Linked DNA regions of Homo sapiens: all the other regions are linked to region 4. The links are contacts of gene promoters, found by promoter capture Hi-C in human tissues and cell types (Jung and others, 2019). All regions are on one chromosome and are shown on one strand. Each heading gives the region's core, a stretch centred on a gene start or on the middle of the fragment in contact. The rest is flanking DNA. Distances are from core to core; before and after follow the strand shown.

The links. The method cuts DNA at HindIII sites, captures the fragments that hold promoters and counts their contacts. A contact is called where the count stands out against the background at its distance.
Region 1: a contact is called between the fragment with the promoter of MRGPRD here and the fragment with the promoter of MYEOV in region 4, in 2 of the 25 tissues and cell types used here (mesendoderm cells and thymus).
Region 2: a contact is called between the fragment with the promoter of MRGPRF here and the fragment with the promoter of MYEOV in region 4, in 2 of the 25 tissues and cell types used here (IMR-90 fibroblasts and stomach).
Region 3: a fragment that was not itself captured here is called in contact with the fragment with the promoter of MYEOV in region 4 in 1 of the 25 tissues and cell types used here (spleen).

What each region holds. Positions count from the first base shown.
Region 1 is chr11:68,979,304-68,982,536 of GRCh38, reverse strand. MRGPRD (MAS related GPR family member D) reads left to right here and starts at 1,551. Exons shown (of 1, transcript NM_198923.2): 1 at 1,551-2,516. The coding sequence starts at 1,551. The coding sequence ends at 2,516. RefSeq lists an enhancer at 2,062-2,571. The HindIII fragment of the contact is 17,904 bases long and covers 1-3,233 here.
Region 2 is chr11:69,011,369-69,014,522 of GRCh38, reverse strand. It overlaps MRGPRF (MAS related GPR family member F), which reads left to right and starts at 1,277. Exons shown (of 3, transcript NM_145015.5): 1 at 1,277-1,440. MRGPRF-AS1 (MRGPRF antisense RNA 1) reads right to left here and starts at 2,169. Exons shown (of 6, transcript NR_120541.1): 1 at 1,975-2,169; 2 at 619-732; 3 at 207-392; 4 at 1-82. The HindIII fragment of the contact is 18,072 bases long and covers 1-3,154 here.
Region 3 is chr11:68,851,622-68,854,764 of GRCh38, reverse strand. LOC124902700 (a long non-coding RNA gene) reads right to left here and starts at 1,399. Exons shown (of 3, transcript XR_007062752.1): 1 at 1,366-1,399. The HindIII fragment of the contact is 8,710 bases long and covers 1-3,143 here.
Region 4 is chr11:69,292,543-69,295,404 of GRCh38, reverse strand. MYEOV (myeloma overexpressed) reads right to left here and starts at 1,250. Exons shown (of 3, transcript NM_001293291.2): 1 at 829-1,250; 2 at 1-172. The coding sequence starts at 50. RefSeq lists an enhancer at 2,128-2,679. The HindIII fragment of the contact is 12,136 bases long and covers 1-2,862 here.

The DNA of each region.
Region 1 (3,233 bases), core at 302-2,801, 310 kb after region 4:
GAAAAGAAACCCAATTGAAAAATGGACAACAGGTGTGAACAGACAATTTGAAGAAGGGGAACTCCAAATGGCTAACAGATATATGAATTGATGCTCAAACTCACTGTAATCACAGAAATGCAAGTTAAAACATCTACAGTATATCACTTTGCAACCATCAGGTTGGCAAAAGTTAGAAAAACAAATAACACCAAGTGTTGGTGAGAGAATGGGAAAACGTAAACATTCCTATTCTGCTGGTACAGGTGAAACCTGAAGCAGCCACTCAGAAAAAGAATTACCAGGCAATATTTAGTGAGACTAAATGTGCATATGTTCTATGACCGAGCAATCCTCCTCCAAGAATGTATCCCAGAAAAATATTGAGTCAAGTCCAATGGGTACATGCATGAGGATGTCCAACACAGTGTTTTGGTGATAATGGGAATTTTGAAGCAAGCTGAGGATCCACAGTAAGGAATGGATAACAGATCAATGTGCATGATGACATTTTAAACCACAACTTTTGCATACAGCCACCTGGATATATCCTACAAACATATTGTCAAGTGAAAAATAAAAAACCCATCATTAATTCTAAATCACAACATTTACGTAAATTTAAAACACAATGGGCAACCACTCCATCTTGAAAGATATTGAGGTGTCCAAGGATTTGCGTGAAACAGGTTGGATGGATGCAAGCGGCAGGAGGAAAAAGGCAGCTAAGATGGGATGGGGAAGGAAACTTGAATAAATGGAGGGTTTTTAATGGGCTGATGCTCATGGTGTGTCTTAAACTAAGGAGTGTAGTTAATTCTACACTTTGCCCTGAGGTCTAATTTTTTTTTTTTTTTAAGAGACAGCATCTCGCTCTGTCTTCCAGGCTGGGGTGCAGTGGCGGGACCATGGCTCACTACAACCTCAATGTGCCAGGCTCAAGCGATCCTCCCGCCTTGGCCTCTCAAGTAGGTGGGACCACAGGTGTGTGCCACCATGCCTGGCTAATTAAAAAAAAAAATTGTAGAGATGAGATCTTGCTATGTGGCCCAGGCTGGTCTCAAACTCCTGGCCTCAAGCAAACCCCAAAGTGCTGGGGTTACAGGCATGCACCACCACGCCCAGCCCTAAGGTCTATTGTTTTTTTAATTAACTCACAGGGTTTGACAATTACAGGAGAAAAAAAAAATGATTTCAAATGTTTCTATCAAATAGTTTTTCTACATCTATTGATAATAATGATTTTTCTATAATAGATGTAGAAAAAGCATTTGATAAAATTCAATACCTCTCCATGATTTAAAAAATAATTCAAAGCAAGATAGAAGAGAATTTTTTAACCTGATAAAGGGTATTTATAACAGCTTTGTAGCTATAAAGGTGACCCTGGAGGCAGATCTGGGCTGAGTGAGTCACAGGAGTGGGGGAAGGTTAAGCCTCCCGGTCATGGTCTGTTACATAAAGAACCTGGAGGGGAGAGCTCTGAAGCTGGAAATTCGAGGGGCACCCAGGGGTCCCCCGTGGTCCCAGCAACACAGAATTTCACATTGGTACATCTTCCTCTCGTAGGGATGAACCAGACTTTGAATAGCAGTGGGACCGTGGAGTCAGCCCTAAACTATTCCAGAGGGAGCACAGTGCACACGGCCTACCTGGTGCTGAGCTCCCTGGCCATGTTCACCTGCCTGTGCGGGATGGCAGGCAACAGCATGGTGATCTGGCTGCTGGGCTTTCGAATGCACAGGAACCCCTTCTGCATCTATATCCTCAACCTGGCGGCAGCCGACCTCCTCTTCCTCTTCAGCATGGCTTCCACGCTCAGCCTGGAAACCCAGCCCCTGGTCAATACCACTGACAAGGTCCACGAGCTGATGAAGAGACTGATGTACTTTGCCTACACAGTGGGCCTGAGCCTGCTGACGGCCATCAGCACCCAGCGCTGTCTCTCTGTCCTCTTCCCTATCTGGTTCAAGTGTCACCGGCCCAGGCACCTGTCAGCCTGGGTGTGTGGCCTGCTGTGGACACTCTGTCTCCTGATGAACGGGTTGACCTCTTCCTTCTGCAGCAAGTTCTTGAAATTCAATGAAGATCGGTGCTTCAGGGTGGACATGGTCCAGGCCGCCCTCATCATGGGGGTCTTAACCCCAGTGATGACTCTGTCCAGCCTGACCCTCTTTGTCTGGGTGCGGAGGAGCTCCCAGCAGTGGCGGCGGCAGCCCACACGGCTGTTCGTGGTGGTCCTGGCCTCTGTCCTGGTGTTCCTCATCTGTTCCCTGCCTCTGAGCATCTACTGGTTTGTGCTCTACTGGTTGAGCCTGCCGCCCGAGATGCAGGTCCTGTGCTTCAGCTTGTCACGCCTCTCCTCGTCCGTAAGCAGCAGCGCCAACCCCGTCATCTACTTCCTGGTGGGCAGCCGGAGGAGCCACAGGCTGCCCACCAGGTCCCTGGGGACTGTGCTCCAACAGGCGCTTCGCGAGGAGCCCGAGCTGGAAGGTGGGGAGACGCCCACCGTGGGCACCAATGAGATGGGGGCTTGAGAGCCGCCCACAGGTGCTTCCCACCTGTGCGAGCCCATGCCCTGGAGATTCCCGAGCCGTGAGCTGCCTCCCACCTCGTCCCTGCCAAGTGTCTGGCCCGCCTTCTTGGGGGAGCCCCAAGGACTTTGCAGCTGCATGTGGGGGTCACTTCCCTGCATGTCAAAACTCCCCACAACACCTGTGTCCTGGATCTCACAATGCAACCCCGCTGGAAGATGCAATTTATTTGTTTATAGCAGATTATCTGGTTGGGGGAAAATATTAGCTTTTAGCCCTACCCTGCTTTAAGCTGGTTATCTATGGGTGGATAACAGGAATCTCATTTGAATATGAAAGCTTTCTCCCAACCACCTTCTCTGCCTAAGACGGCATCTTTGTGGAGGAGGCAGGTGACCTCGGGTGATCTTTGGCCCTATGCTGGTCCTTGGGTGGCATCAACTGGCCACCAAGGTGGTGCCCCCGTGCACCTTTCCCCAGGTGTGCCTGAAGTCTGGCAAGTAAACGGTGTCGCCATCGCCGACCCGGATCTCGCTGGCTGTGGGCCATGAGACTCTGCCCCACCATCCCTCTGACCCCTGGCCAGCCCTTGACCCCTGGCATTTGCTATGAGGTCGCCTTACCCTGTCACCCCTCGCACCCAGGGCAGGCCTGTTCGCTTTCCTCCAGGCCGCACTGGGAAGGGAAGAGCCTCTGCCTGGCTTCACTGGCAGTCACTCC
Region 2 (3,154 bases), core at 28-2,527, 280 kb after region 4:
TACACTTGGAACTCGCCGGGATTCAGCCTCCCCCGGCCTCCCCATGTAAACAAGCGTTCCAGCTGGGCCCCAGCTGGCTGCCCTGGAGAGGAGGGGACGGGTCACCACCCTGCCTGCTGCCTCCAGCCTCTCTCTCAGCCTCAGGCATGGCCCGTGAGCCTCCAGGATCCCAGAGTCCCTCCTCACCCCATCCCTGAAAAACGGACCCCAGGAGGCCAGCTGAGCCGCGCAGGGAGCAGTGCGAGAGTCCCTCTTCCACGCTGAGGTTCGCACATGGCCAGGACAAGCAGGAGGCAGGCAGCTCCCAGCGCAGGTGCAGGGGCAGCTCCGCTTCTCATTTCCCTTCAAGATGCCCACAGAGGCACATCTCTCCCAGTCTGGGCACTACACTCCTGCAGGGAAAGTTCAGAATTCCCTCGGGCTTCCTGGACCCTGAGAAAGTTGGCCCAGGGTAGGAGGGGAGCCTTCTCATCACCCCCTCCTCCTGGCCACCCTGCTGGCTCCCGCACCCCCGACTCTGCACCCCCACCCCTACCAATGCTCAGTGCCCCAGGCATGAACGCGTTCCAGGACCCCCCCCCACCGCCCGCCTCCAGGGGCTCAATGGGGAAGGGGGACCTGACTCATCCTCCCGCTGAGCAGCGCAGGCACCAGGCACCACAGCCCGCCAATTTCCAGCTTGCTTGCCGAGCGCCGTGATTTTCCACTTGCGCCATCTGATTGCTATTAGGGCTGGGGAAAAGGGAATTCCTGGTTCCATAAGCCCCCAGGGGGCCCAGGCCGAGTCCGGGGTGGGAAGGGGGAGGGGTGCCGCTTGGGCGGTGCTGACCACCTCTGCCAGTTCTGCACTGCCCCTCCATGGAGCCCTCGCCCTGCTGCCCCCCACTGCTCTGTATCAGCCCCTGAGTAAATTAAAACAACGGGGTGGGGACTAGCCCCTCCTGGGCCAGCCTGCCCCGAAATGCCCACTGGGGGCAGACCAAAGACGCCAGGCAAGTGTACAGCCGGTGCTCCCTCTCCTGGGCAGCCCTGCCGAGCAGCAGAATGTGAGGGAGATGAACAGCTGGACTCGGGCTGCAGTGCTCGGGCCAACGTGACGTCACCAGGCGGAGAGATGAGTTCCCGGTGGGGCTCTGGGGGGGGCTCCTGAGCGGGGCATTCCTTCCTGAAGCCTCATCCCCGCTCAGCCCTGCTCAGCCCCTCCTCCTACTCCCCTCCCCCTCCCCCTCCTGCCGGGCCAGGAATTGGGTTTGGGGCGGGTTCTGCTTCCAAAGCCATCTCTTCCAGCAGGAGAGGGCTCTACTCTGAGCTCCTATTTTCCAAGGCTCCGGGCCGCGCTCGGCGCTGGCCTGCTGCCCCGGCGGGTCCGCCGGCCGGAGGCGGGAGTCACAGGAAGAGCCCTCCACAAAAGGAGGCCTCGGCGGATCAGGACAGCTGCAGGTAGCTCCAGGGGCCCAGGGTCCAGGGGAGGGTGTTCCAACAACCGGGGCTGCAGGGTGAGGGCCAGGCAGGGAAGGAAAATGACGCGGGCACTGTAGGGGCAGAGAGGTGGACGCTGTCGGGGCAGGCAGCTCCCAGAAATCCTAAGGCCCCAGGCAGGGAGCCCTGAGACCCCAGAGAGGCTGTCACTCACCGGAGAAGCTCCCCTGCCACTCCTGAGGCTCCAGGGTTCCAGGGCCATGGAGGAACTTTAAAAGTCCCCCTCCCGTGGCAGGACCTGACCCCTCTCAGCTGGCCTCACCCCCAGCCCCACCGTCCAGCTCCTGCTCTGTGCTGCTGGGGGTGAGGGCTCCCTCTCGGTCCCTCCCCCAGCCTCACTGGCCATTCAAGCATGCATTCTAGAGGGGCTGGAACGGAACACCCAGCAGGCAGTGTCCCACACACAGGGAGATGGCTCCCCCTGCTCTCAGCCCTGGGGTGCACATGGGGTGTCCGTGTGGGCAGCCACAGGATGTTGGGCAACTGCAGTCCCACCTTCTCCCAGGCCTGCGGCCTGATGAAGCTGTTGGCCTTGGATGGAGGCGGCTCCTGGAATGATCTGCAAGGTCTCAGTCCCCCCAGACAAGCCTCTTCAATCCAAGCTGTTAAGCAGGGGACTCCAGACCCGGAGTGAGGAAAACAGAGGCTCTGTGTCTGGGGGAGCGAGACAGGCCCCTCTGATGGCGGCACAAGCGGCTAAGGAGAGGGGCTGGGACAGCCCCAGCGGCGTCGGGGCTGGGTCATGGTGGGATGGAGTGAAGGGAGAGGAGGAGCTTCCTGCGGGCAAGGCTGCAGGAGGCTGACAGGTGGCCAGGCCACCCTTGGGCTTGCTCCGAGGGGAGGGTCAGGTGTGAGCTGTGCTGGCAGCTTTTTGGGTCAGCTTCAGTGGAAACTAGTTCTGTCATAGCAGCCCAGATCCCACCCAGAGGAACACACATACACATGTACTGACACGCACGCCCCATCCACGTGTCACACACATGTCCTTTAATATGGCCCATCTGGGGTCTGCTGGCTTCTAGATCTTTCTGTGCATGCGTGAAATCGCTTTTCAGGTTGTCCCTGGCAGGACAAGGACAAATGCACAGGGACACCCACATAATGGAGGGACGCAGATGGTAGAGAGGGGAGCTGGGGGCCCCCACTGCATGCCCACCTGCAGCGTAGGGGGGAGCCCAGCCCACTGCCTTTGGGGCACTAGTTGGTGTGGCTGGGGTCTAGCCTGGCCAGGGTGAATGGATGAGGCTCCTGTGAGTCAGGACATCTCTGGAAACAAGGCTGGGGGCCCAGACCTAGGGGTGGTGGGTGTCCAGAAGGGCCACCAAAAAGAGTAGGGGCAATGGAGAGAGCTTGGGGGGCTCTTACCAGGCGCCCGGAAGGATGAGGGCAGGTGATAGGTCTGGGGTTGCAGGGCAGGAAAGCTCAGACAGGCCCCAGAGCGTGGAGAAGTTACGGCCTGTCTGTGGCAACGGGACAATGGCCCAACTGGAGTCCAAGGAGGGAGACTTAAGATACAGGTCGCAGCACCAGCCATCTGCAAGCCCACTGCACACACATCACAATGCACTGGCTCACTCCGGCACACAAGGTGCCCCCACCCTGGGACACCCCGAAGACCCCAGGCTGAGTCAGCCGTAGGCCAGGCACAGGTGCTCACAAACGCCCTTTGAAGGCG
Region 3 (3,143 bases), core at 69-2,568, 440 kb after region 4:
AGCCCCTCTGCGGTCCTGCGCGGGCGCCGGGGCCGGCAGGGGAGGGGGCTGCAGCGCCTGGACTGGCCATGGAATTATGTTGCATGAAAAACAAAGAAAGCAGCGCTATTCGGCCGGTCGGCCGCTCCCTCCCCACCTCCCCCGACCCTGGGCCTTAGAGGAGGGTCACTTCCTCCTCCCCACCGGTCCCTACCGCCAGAATACCCCAACTCTTCTTTCCTCCGTCCGAAACCTGTGACTTCAAGGAAACAATTAGCTTCTCCGGCAGCCAATGAGCGCCCAGCCAATTCCCCATTTTTCCAATGCACAAACGTTTTGGGGGGTTGGAGACGCCCAGGACCCCAGAAACAGGACAATCGCAGTTTCGGACTGGAGCGGCGAGGGGGGAGAGACGGGTGGGTCTTAGACAAGGAAGAAGCCTCACTGCAAGCACAGCGGAGGAAGGCATTATGTCTATTTGGGGTAATGGGGGGACGCAAGTGACCTCCGAGTGGACCTTGAAGGCTGAGTGGGAATCTTCCAGAAGGGAAAGGAGACAGCCATTGGGTTATATTTCAGGATCAAGGTCAGCGTGGGAGGTCCGGGCACCCACACCCACCTCCCAGGCAGACTGAAAGTGCTGTACTGTGCGCATCTGTCCTATCATGAATGGACGCATCCAATGTGGTCTGTCCGGACAAACAGAGTACTATTCAGCTATACAAAGGAGTGAAACACCGACCCAGGCTACAACATTGGTGAACCCTGAAGACATGATACTCAGTGAAAAAAGGCAGTCACCAACGACCACATGTTGTAGGATCCCATTCCTATGAAATGTGCAAAATAGGCAAATCCATATGTGAATTTGACAAAAAGTGGACTGGTGGCTGCCCCGGGTGGGGAACATGGGGAGAAAGGCTGCTAATGGGTTGAGTGTTTTGTTTAGGGGAAAATGTTTAGGAAATTAGATTGTGGTGGTGGTTGCACAACCCTGTGTATATACCAAAATCGATTGAATTGTACACTTGAAAACAGTGAACTTTATGGTATGTGAGTCAAATCTCAGTAGATTAAAAAAAAGAGAGCTTAGCAGGGCCAGGCGCAGTGGCTCACACCTGCAATCCCAGCACTTTGGGAGGCCGAGGCGGGTGGATCACCTGAGGTCAGGAGTTCGAGACCAGCTTAGCTAAAATGGCAAAACCTCATCTCCACTAAAAATACACAAATGGCCAGACACAGTGGCTCACACCTGTAATCCCAGCACTTTAGGAGGCCAAGGTGGGTGGATCACCTGAGGTTGGGAGTTCGAGACCAGCCTGACCAACATGGAGAAACCCCTTCTCTACTAAAAATACAAAATTAGCCAGGCATGGTGATACATACCTGTTATCCCAGTTACTCGGGAGGCTGAGGCAGAAGAATCACTTGAACCCGGGAGGCAGAGGTGGCCGTGAGCCAAGATCGCACCATTGCACTCCAGCCTGGGCAACAAGAGCAAAAACTCCATCTCAAAAAACAAAACAAAACAAAACAAAAAAAACAAAACAACAACAAAAATTAGCAGGACGTGGTGGCGCCCACCTGTAATCCAGCTACTTGGGAGGCTGAGGCAGGAGAATCGCTTGAACCCGGGAGGCGGAGTTGCAGTGAGCCGAGATCTCAACACTGCACTCCAGTCTGTGCGACAGAGCAAGAGATCAAGACTTCATCTAAAAAAAAAAAAAAAAGACAGAGAGCTTAGCAGAGTTGCACCTCAGATCCTGCATCGTGGTTCTTATGGCTGCTCCATTTTGCAGCAGAGGAAGCTTCTGCTTGAGCCTTGCAGTGGAGCAAGGCTGCAGCTGCCCTCTGAGAGTGTCTTCTCTGGAGAGCTGACTGGCCCTGCTTTGCCTCCGTCTCCTCTCCTGGCACCTGATCCATGGCTGTGCACAAAAACAAGAAGAAGTGAGTGGAAAGGCACGCTGGGCAGAGGGAACAGCGAGAACAGATGCTCAGAGGCAGGAGGTGGGGTGAGGTTTTCAGTGGAGAGAGCACAGAGCCCAGTGAGGTTTGTGAGCCCAGGTTGGAAAGGTCGTTTGGGCACAGATCTCTAGGAGGTCTTTCCGGCCTGCCTGAGAGGAAGGGCCAGCTTCCGGGAAATGCAACTCGCACAGTCACACAAGGGGAGAACTTAACAGGGCTTCGTGGTTAGTTTCATGCTCTGCAGTCACTGGCTTGAAATTCCTTTCTTGTTTTTTAAAATTTTTTTCAATTTTATGTATTTATTTATTTTGGAGACTGAGTCTCGAGAGCTCTGTCACCCAGGCTGGAGTGCAGTGGTGCGATCATAGCTCACTGCAGCCTCGAACTCCTGGGCTCAAGCTGAAGCCATTCTCTTACCTCAGCCTCTCAAGTAGCTGGGACTACAGGCACACCACCAGGTAATTTTTTATTTTTGGTAGAGACAAGGTCTGGCTTTGTTGCCCAGGCTGGTCTCAAACTCCTGGTTTCAAGCGATCTTCCCACCTCAGCTTGAAATTCTTCATAGTTTTTGATCAAAGGTCTCAGCCTTCATTTCACTTTGCTTGACAAATTTTGAAGCCTGTTCTGCCTGGAGGCCACAGATTGCCTCAAAGATGTTGGGGCACAGAAGGTGACCGCGAAGAAGGGCACACATGGGGACAGTTTAGAGGTTCCTGTGGGAGACATGGAAATGGGGTGAGGGCCTGGAAGGGAAGGGCCAGATGGAGGGGCACCAGGCAGCTAAGCCTGCAGAGCCCCAACCCTCCACCCGTCCATCCCAACCATCACTCAGTCATTCAGCTAACATTTCTGAAACCCAAGTTATGTATCTGGTTCTGGTTTCCAGGGTTTCCAGCCCTAGGGGGCTTATGGTCTATCAAATCTGTAAGCTAGTCCCCACCCACCCCATGCCAGAGCCACACTCTGCCCGACTCCCTGGTTTGTTTTTCTCCTTTGCTTTTTATTTTTTTATTTTTTATTTTTATTTTTATTTTTAGATGGAGTCTTGCTCTTGTCGCCCAGGCTGGAGTGCAATGGCACGATCTCAGCTCACTGCACCCTCCGCCTCCCAGGTTCAAGCGATTCTCCTGCTTCAGGGTCCCGAGTAGTTGGGATTACAGGCACCTGCCATCATGCCTGGCTAATTTTTGTATTTTTAG
Region 4 (2,862 bases), core at 1-2,500:
AGACCTATCGGGAGAGCTGGGGTGTATGTGACGCAGATTCTGAGGGCCATGAGCCGAGGGAAGGAGCCAGACGCTGTCCTAAGTGCCAGGGGAAGTTGTTAGAGGTGTTAAGCGTGGCATGACGTGGCTGGATTTAGGGTCTGAGATGAACTTTCCTGCTCCTGAATGGACTCTGAGGAGAAGGAAGATACTACCATCCGTAATCCACCCCGGGAAGGCACTGACCTCCTTGACCATGGGGAGGATGAGAGGCCGCCGCTCTGTGCCTGGGTCCCCATGGCCTCTAGGGTCCCTTCACGTTTTCACCTCATGATCCTGGAAGCTGGGACCTGCCCAAATCCACCGGGTGGCCCCAGCCTCCCCATCTCTGGGGCAGGGGGTGGGCAGCCTTCTCCTCCTGGTTTATAGCCACAGATGACTCCAGGCACAGTGGTCCTCAACCGCCTCTAGGGACCATGGGGACGGCTGCCCTCTGTGTGTGACGGTGGCTGGGCAGAAGCCAGCTGGGCTGTCGTGGGTAGGGCCTGGAGGCCTCTGGCTGTATGGTGGTCTAGCTTTGGCACCACCTTGGGGGGCTCCGGGTAGGAGGTGTCCACCAGAGGGGACCTGGGCAGCTCAGCAGAGGCTTGGTCACTCCCGAGCCGTCTGTGGGTCCCACTGGTCTGTACCCTCAACCCCACTGACCTGCACTGGTCATGCCCAGCTCTCACAGGATGATGGCCCCAGCCTTGTAATGAGTCACCTGCTGCCCTCCTGCCCCTCCAGCTGGTCCCCCACCCAGCAGCCACAGGGCTTTCCTTAAAACATAAGAAAGACCCTGCTTCTTACCTGCTCAGATCCCACCAAGAACCGGCCACCTCACTCCAGATAAACTCCAGACTCTTCACTGAGCCCAAAGGCAACGAGCAGAAGTGTCCAGAAATCACACAGAGCTCAGCAGGTGGTGAGGCACCTGGACCCGAGTCACCCAGCAGCTGAACAGGCCATCCCTGAGGCCATGCACGCCCCGGCCCTGCAGGTGTGACGGCCGAGGCTTCCACGACGGGGGGTGAGTGGGAGCTAATATGGCTGGTGAAAGCACTGGGTTCAGTGGGGATGGCATCTCCCGCCCTCTGTCCAAGGTGGGGAAAAAGTCAGCTTCAGGTGAGGGAGACCCTGGACGCCTGGCTTTGGGCTGATTCCCCACTCACTTGGCCTCTCCCAAGCATACTTTCCTGCTTTGTAGGGATGTGGGTTCGCGGGACAGTAACAGGAGAATCAAGGCAAGAACTCAGAGGGGGATAGCCAAGGTAGGCGGAGCTGCCTGGTGGGTGGGACTAACCCAGGTGGGTGGGGCTGCTTGTGAGTGGGGCTAGCCCAGGTGGGTGGGGCTGCCTGGTGGGCAGGGCTTTCTTCCCCGTCAACATTTCCCTCTCTCGGTTAAGGCCAGGGCAGAGCCCACACATGGGTGTGCCCAACCTTAAGGCCTGCCCTGGGTGAGTTAAGACTCCCCAGCTCACCTAGGTCCTACCTGAGGGGAACCTACACGGCCAACCTCCTCAAGGATCCTGAAGCCACCCAGAAGACAGTGGGGCTAGGGTGCCATTCATTCATTCATTTATTCATTCACCTATTCATTTATTTACTCGCTTCACCACCCTTTCCTGGGTAATATTAAGAATAACAGTGGGCCTAGGAATATAGAACATTCTTAGGGGTTTCTTGCAGGCCAGGCACCCTAAGAAAAAGTTATGTAACCCACGTGGCCTCGCTGTGAGGGGGACGACTGCTGTCCTCACTTAATAGATGAGGAGCTGAGCCATGGAGGCCTCACAGCTGGGCAGCTGGGGGTGGACCCCATAGACTGGAGGGGGATGGGCAGGGGCAAGGAGTTCTGCTGGCCCCAGGCCTCTTGTACACATCTTGGGAAGTACTAAAAATGAGTACTTGCTCAAGTCCCTCTCTTCATTGAGCACAGGGAGCTCTTGGCCCTTCCCTCCTCCTCCCTTTACCCTCACCGCCCAATTCCACACGGGTGTACTGAGCACTTGCTAAGGGCCAAGACCAGCACTAGGTGGAGCACACAGTAGGAACCCAAGGCAGCCCTCCCTGCCCAGCTCTCCAGGACACTGTCGTCAATGCCAGCGGGAAGCATAGAGAGGCCAGGGAAAGACGGGCAGTCAGGAGGAAGGAGCCAGCGGAGGGGAGAGAGGGCCGGCAGCTCAGTGCACCTGGACCGTGGTGGATGCTGGACTATGACCAGAGACAGGGCTGCAGCCCAGAGCTAGCCCCAGACCCACAGGGCCTCAGGGGGCTTCACAGGCTTTGTCAGGGGTTTGGACTTTCTCCCGAGGGCTGGGGACCCTGCAAGTTGCAGAAACTGGGCTATATTTGGCATTTTAGAAGCCTCCCCCAGCTGTAGTGGAGGGGAATTGGAGGGAGTGGGAGAGGAGGTTCCCATTCTCACTCAGGTGGGAGATGGTGGTGGGATGGAGGGTGACCCTGATTGATAGGACTCAGGGACAAATTAAAGGTGAGGGCCAGGGAGAGGGTTATCCAGACAGCTCCCAGGAAGATGGCAGTGGGATGGAGGGTGACCCTGATGGGACTCAGGGACAAATTAAAGGTGAGGGCCAGGGAGAGGGTTATCCAGACAGCTCCCAGGAAGATGGTGACACCAGTGAGGTGGGGAGATAGGATGGCATTTGGTTCCCACTGAGCTGGAGATGCCTGTACAAAGCTTCTAAGATACCCAAGGCAGAATCTGCAGCTCCTGCAAAGACAAGAGCTCTGCTCTGCCTCCAGGGAATCAGGGGAGGTCTCCCCAGTGCCCTACTGGGACCTCCAGAGACCCTATGCGAGCCTCCCCCAACCCAACCACCA